Linked DNA regions of Homo sapiens: region 2 is linked to region 1. Evidence: promoter capture Hi-C in human tissues and cell types (Jung and others, 2019). All regions are on one chromosome and are shown on one strand. The core of a region is centred on a gene start or on the middle of the fragment in contact, and the rest is flanking DNA. Distances in the headings are between cores, read along the strand shown. Region 1 holds the start of OSCP1 (organic solute carrier partner 1). Region 2 holds the start of GRIK3 (glutamate ionotropic receptor kainate type subunit 3).

Region 1 (2,700 bases), core at 200-2,699:
GTTATTTTTAGCTCTTTATGCATGGACTTGCACTCAGTCACACACACACAATAGTTAATATCTGAATATGTATGCTTAGCATCTGAATATGTATGTTGAACATCAATTGAGCATACAAAGATTAATGGAGAGAATGTTTTAATTGGCGGCCATGTCAATTGCCTTTTCAACTTTTCCTCCTCCACTTTGAAATATAATATTTCCTTCATACTTAATCCTAGGAAATTTGGTATAAGCAAGTTGTTTGCCGAGAAGGGAGGAAAAGAGGAAAAGGAACAGAGTGGCAGAGTGTTCTGAGTCGTCATTTTTCTGGGGATTAGTGTGGTGTCCATGGGAGGCAGATTTTGCATTTTCGAAGCTCTCATATAATTATTTTCACAATTGTATTCCCCTCCAACACTTGTGAGGAGATTTATAACTTTCTTATTTTTTTCATATTTATCTATATTATTTTAGAACACCAAATTTCTAGAAATACTTCTGAGATGAGTAAGACCAATCTCCAGCTTATGTGGGAAGATACTACCATAAAGAAATTAAGAATCTGAACCTGGGCTGGACGCGGTGGCTCACGCCTATAATCCCAGCACTTTGGGAGGCCGAGGGGGGCAGATCGTTTGAGTCCAGGAATTGAAGACCAGCCTGGGAAACATGGTGAAACCCCATCTCTACTAAAAATACAAAAATTAGCTGGGTGTGGTGGTGCATGCCTGTAATCCCAGCTACTTGGGAGGCTGAGGCACGAGAATCGCTGGAACCCAGGAGGCAGAGGTTGCAGTGAGCCGAGATCGTGCCACACACTCCAGCCTGGGCGACAGAGCGAGACCCTGTCTCAAAAAAAAAAAAAAAAAAAAAAAAAAAAAAAAATCAGAACCTGTTCCTTGGGGGTAAAGAGGATGCTTGGACTAGCAAGGGGTATGATACTAGATGGTGGGCAGCTGGGACTCCTACATTTGGAAGGCACTGATTGACAAGAGAGACTGGGAAATCACCTCTCCCATTTGAAGAGATGGGGAAATTAGGGAGGTCAGGCACCCTAGTGTCCACTGGGAGTATTAAGTTCCTCTGCTGTGAAAAAAGCTTTTGGGGGGATTTGACTCCCGAGGGGCTCCAAATGGATGTGGCTTGTAAGAAAGGTCCCTGGTTATAAGAGTGAAGTGTGTAGGGGTGCGGGTCTGGCTGTGGGTGTTAGGGCGATGATGAGAGGGCCGGGCTGCTGGCTGCGGGTCTGGCTGAGCGGGCCGGGGGCCTCTCACCTTTGCGGGCCTTGTCTCCCGGGATGTTCTGGGCCCGCAGCCGTTGGTCGAGGATGTAAAGCATCTCCCCGCCCAAGTTCAAGAAGAGCAGCGGTAGCGTCCGCACCGACATGGTGCTGGAAACGAGCTGGACTGGTGAAGAGCCCCGGGGTTCGGTAGCCAGTGGCCTGAAGGCCAGGCCGCAGCGTCCCAATAGTCCGGTTGCTGGGGCAACGCCGTGACGGGAAGAGCGAGCCAATCAGAAGGCGGTTTGGTGGGAGGTGCCCTGAAGACGGGAGCTAATTGGTCTGGGTGGTGGACCGTCCCGGGGGGATTGGTCCGAGCCAGAGGCCGGCGCGGCGTTGGGCGCGGCTGGGGAGCTGTGCTTCTGAGAGTAGGTTTCCCTCGAAAGGGCGAGGGCCGGGCCAGGGCTGGGGGTGGTCTCGACACAGCCAGCCCGGCGCTTGGGACCCCGGCCGCTGGCGCGGGGCCTCAGGTTCCTATAACAGAGGAAAGCCCAGGCAGAACGGCATTAGAGCAGGCTCGGGTCAGACGGACCTGGGTTGGAATCACGGCTCGTGATTTCTTGCTGTGTGACTTCGGGCAGGGTTTGAGCCTTGGCTTCCTCTTACGTAACATGGAGCTGGCACTCACATCACAGGGCGGCTGAGAGGAATCAGTCAGATCATGGAAAGGCCCCGAAAGCACTCAATAAAAATGGTAACTGACTTTTCTTTTAGACGAGGGAAGGATCAGAAGTCCTGAGTCGTTTGCATCGCCTCCCAAAAGTTTACTTGAAGTGAAGCCCCTCCTGGTTTCATACTCCATGAAGCAAACCAGTCCCGTCCGTCCCCGTGTGTCCAGTTCCCAGAGGATGCGCCTGGGGGCTCTGGGAAGTTCCCTCCTCGACGCTGTTCCGAAGGCCTCCCAACCATTTCTTTTTTCTTTTTTTTTTTTTTTTGAGACGGATTTTGCCCTTGTCGCTCAGGCTGGAGTGCAGTGGCGCCATCTCGGCTCATTGCAACTTCCGCCTTCAGGGTTCAAGCGATTCTCCTGCCTCAGCCTCCCGAGTAGCTGGGATTACAGGCGCCCGCCACCATGCCCGGCTAATTTTTGTATTTTTAGTAGAGACGGGGTTTCACCATGTTGGCCAGGCTGGTCTGGAACTCCTGACCTCAGGTGATCTGCCCGCCTGGGCCTCCCAAAGTGCTGAGATTACAGGCGTGAGCTATCACGCCCGGCCCCAACCATTTCTCTTTGAGGGCAGCGACTCCCTTCCTTACCTCCATCTTAAGCTCCAGGATTACTTTTTGCCATCTGCTGTATATTTTTACTCTGATGAACAACCATTTCTGTAAATTTCAGTACTTCCAAAACCTACTAATTATCTTTCCCTCCAGCTACTCAAACTTGAAACTTGGGCCTTGGCTTCCAAATCTGTTTCCCAGGGTCTTTTATCAGTCAT
Region 2 (2,700 bases), core at 46-2,545, 580 kb after region 1:
AGCCGCGCGCAGCCCCGCCAGCCGCCGCCAGCTGCGGAGGAATTCGGGCTAACTTTAAAAACCGCTGGCGTCCCTGGGCCGCCTGCCCGGGCCGCACTGGGCGGCCTCCATCGTCCCTTCCCTCTACCTGCACTGCCCCAGGCGGGAGAGAGGCCTTGGCCCCGAGGGACCAGCTGCAGCGGGCAGCGGGGTCCTGCTCCCCCAACCCCCGCCCCATGGCACGGGGCTGAACCGGTACCACCGAGGCCAAGGGCGACCACCAGGAGAGAAGACCGGCTGCCCTCGTCATGCGAATCTGTGCCCTGCGACCTCGCTGCGGCTGCTCGAGCTATGCCAGAGGTGGGGACGAAGGGCCCGCGGGGAGTGAGGTGGGCAGAGGAGAGAAGTTGGCGCCTTCCCCAGGGTCCCCACTCTGCGGAGAAGCCCGATCGCAGAACTCGGTCGGCTGCGGTTCATGCTGGCAGTCACCGCGAAATGCGCCCTCGACTCGGGATCGCACTGGAAACCTTCGCCACACTGTGCCAGGTCTGACCTCCCAGGAGCGCGCCAAGGGCCCCTCGCCCACTGCGGCCCGGCGGCCTCCTCCCCAATAAGTAAGGCCCGTGACCCCGACTCTGGAACTTTGTCCTCACAGGGAGGAGCTCCTGGTGGTCACCGATCGGCTCAGCAGCTCGGAGAGAGGTTAGGAAAATCTCTCCGGAACGCGTTGGGAGGCCCCCTCATTCCCGCCCCCTCCCGGGCGCACGGAGACCCCCGGCTCCAGGGAGCGCTTACCGATCCGGATGACGTGGGGCATCCCGCGCGAGTCCGGGATCCAGAAGGCGCACACGAGGAGCCCGGCCCAGTATTCCCAAACCAGACTCCGGAGGCGCCGCCAGGGAGCGGTCATCGTTGGGCGCCGCCGAGCGTGCCCGGGGCGCGGCCGTGGCGGGCTCCCTGGGGCGGCAGCTCTAGGCGCGGGCGCGCAGCAGCCCCGAAGGCGCCGCCTGGCCCAGCCGCCCGGCTCCCGAGCGCCGCTGCAAGTGGGGGGCGCCCCGCGGCGCCGCGCACATCTTACTGGGGGGCCGCCCCGCCGGCGCCCGCCCCGCCTGGCTGCCGCCCACGGGCTGCCCGCGAGCGAGGCTCCTGGGCTCCGCCCGGACTCCGCTCGGACTCGGCTCCGGCTCCGACTCGCGTCGGCTCGGCTCCCGCGCGGGCTCCCACCTGCCCCGGCTGCCGGGCTCTGGCGGGCGGGCTGCACGCGTCTCCGGCCGCTCCTCCTCCAGCCGCCGCCGATGCTATCGCCCGGGCTCGCACAAAGCCCCGGAGTGGAGTTGCACGCGCGCACACTCTCCCTCCCAGCCCCCTCCCCTGCGCCCTGCCTCCCGCCTCCCGCGCCGCCCGCCGCCCGCGCTCCCTCCGCGCACTCCCCCGCGCACACACACTTCACACTCACACTTGCCGAGGCGCACACTCGCGCGCTCACACCTGCGCGGGGGGCGGGGAAGGGGACCCTGGCCCCATTGTAGGGGGACGCCCGGAGAACGAGGACTCTCCTCGCTTCCCAGACGTCCCCACCCGCCCCGCCGGCCCCAGTCCCTTCTACTGCGAGGGCACGGAGCCCGGGAGCCAGGCGTGGAGCGCGAGAGCTGGCACCGCGAGCTGGGAGACGGCGGCAGCCCAGCGGCCGGACCAGCTGGAGGAGACGCGCCCGCCGGGAGCAGCGAGACCGGGAGCCCGCCGTCTGCGGAGCCTGGCCTCGCGGCTCCCACGCGGCGGGCGCTGGCTGGACGGCGGTGGCAGCGGGAGACTGACCCGGGAACCGGCTTCCCTCCCCAACCCCATTCCTCCTGGCAGCAGAGTTGGGGCTGGGGGTTCGGAGAGGCAGAATTCAAAGCGAATTGTCTACGCTGGGCCAGGGGAGCTGAGGGAGTTGGTAGAGGTGGGAGAGCCCAAGTCAGACCCCCTGCTGTGGGAAGCTGGACTTGACCGCGCACAGGTCCTGGGGCTGCGGAGGAGGAAGACCGCTCACGCCTTAGATGTAGGGGGGCGTGGGCGCCGGGCCCGCTCCCTCTCAGCCCTCTCCCGTAACTGTGCAGGAAGGGCTGGTGCCCCCTCCCTCATTCTCCTGAGAAAGAATAAAGAGAAACTGTAATTTGTCGTGGGATGGAGTAGGATCCGTGGGGGAGCAAGCTAAAGGGGTTAAAAAGAAAAACAACGTTGTTTATTAGCAATAATAATTTTTTTTCAAGTGGCGCTGGGTGTGAGGGAAGGGAAAGGCTGTGGAGCGAGGCTGGAGCAGGAGGCTGCGAATTACTCAGTTAGGCGAGTTTAATGACCTTTTTGACAGAGACAAAGCGGTGCCGATACAGTAGATAAATAAACGGATCTGTCACCGGGCAGCGGCTAGGCTGTGTGTGAATTTATTTTTCTCATTTAAATAATTTGATCTATTCTATCATTTCCAATCTTTCCCATTTGCCAGCTGTCTGGTAAGAGCATGGCCCCCAACATCTGAAGAGCAAATCTTTAATTTTCTTACAAATATTCTATGAGCCGAGCTCTCACCCGCCTGTTAATTTCCCTCTTTTTTCCCCTCCCTGTCTGGGTGCAGAGGCCCGTGGCATTGTGTGGGGATGTGAATATCTCAGTGTGGCCAATCCTGCCAATTAGGAAGGGACGCCCTCCCACCTGAGGTGGAGGCCACTGTGGCTGTGGGAG

The links. The method cuts DNA at HindIII sites, captures the fragments that hold promoters and counts their contacts. A contact is called where the count stands out against the background at its distance.
Region 2: a contact is called between the fragment with the promoter of GRIK3 here and the fragment with the promoter of OSCP1 in region 1, in 2 of the 25 tissues and cell types used here (mesendoderm cells and thymus).

The regions. Positions count from the first base shown.
Region 1 is chr1:36,449,002-36,451,701 of GRCh38, forward strand. OSCP1 (organic solute carrier partner 1) reads right to left here and starts at 1,450. Exons shown (of 10, transcript NM_145047.5): 1 at 1,257-1,450. The coding sequence starts at 1,368. It overlaps LOC107984940 (a long non-coding RNA gene), which reads left to right. Exons shown (of 3, transcript XR_001737976.2): 3 at 457-564. RefSeq lists a silencer at 1,576-1,845. The HindIII fragment of the contact is 9,579 bases long and covers 1-2,700 here.
Region 2 is chr1:37,033,220-37,035,919 of GRCh38, forward strand. It overlaps GRIK3 (glutamate ionotropic receptor kainate type subunit 3), which reads right to left and starts at 1,296. Exons shown (of 16, transcript NM_000831.4): 1 at 775-1,296. The coding sequence starts at 889. RefSeq lists enhancers at 1-850, 1,425-1,986, 1,987-2,547. The HindIII fragment of the contact is 18,806 bases long and covers 1-2,700 here.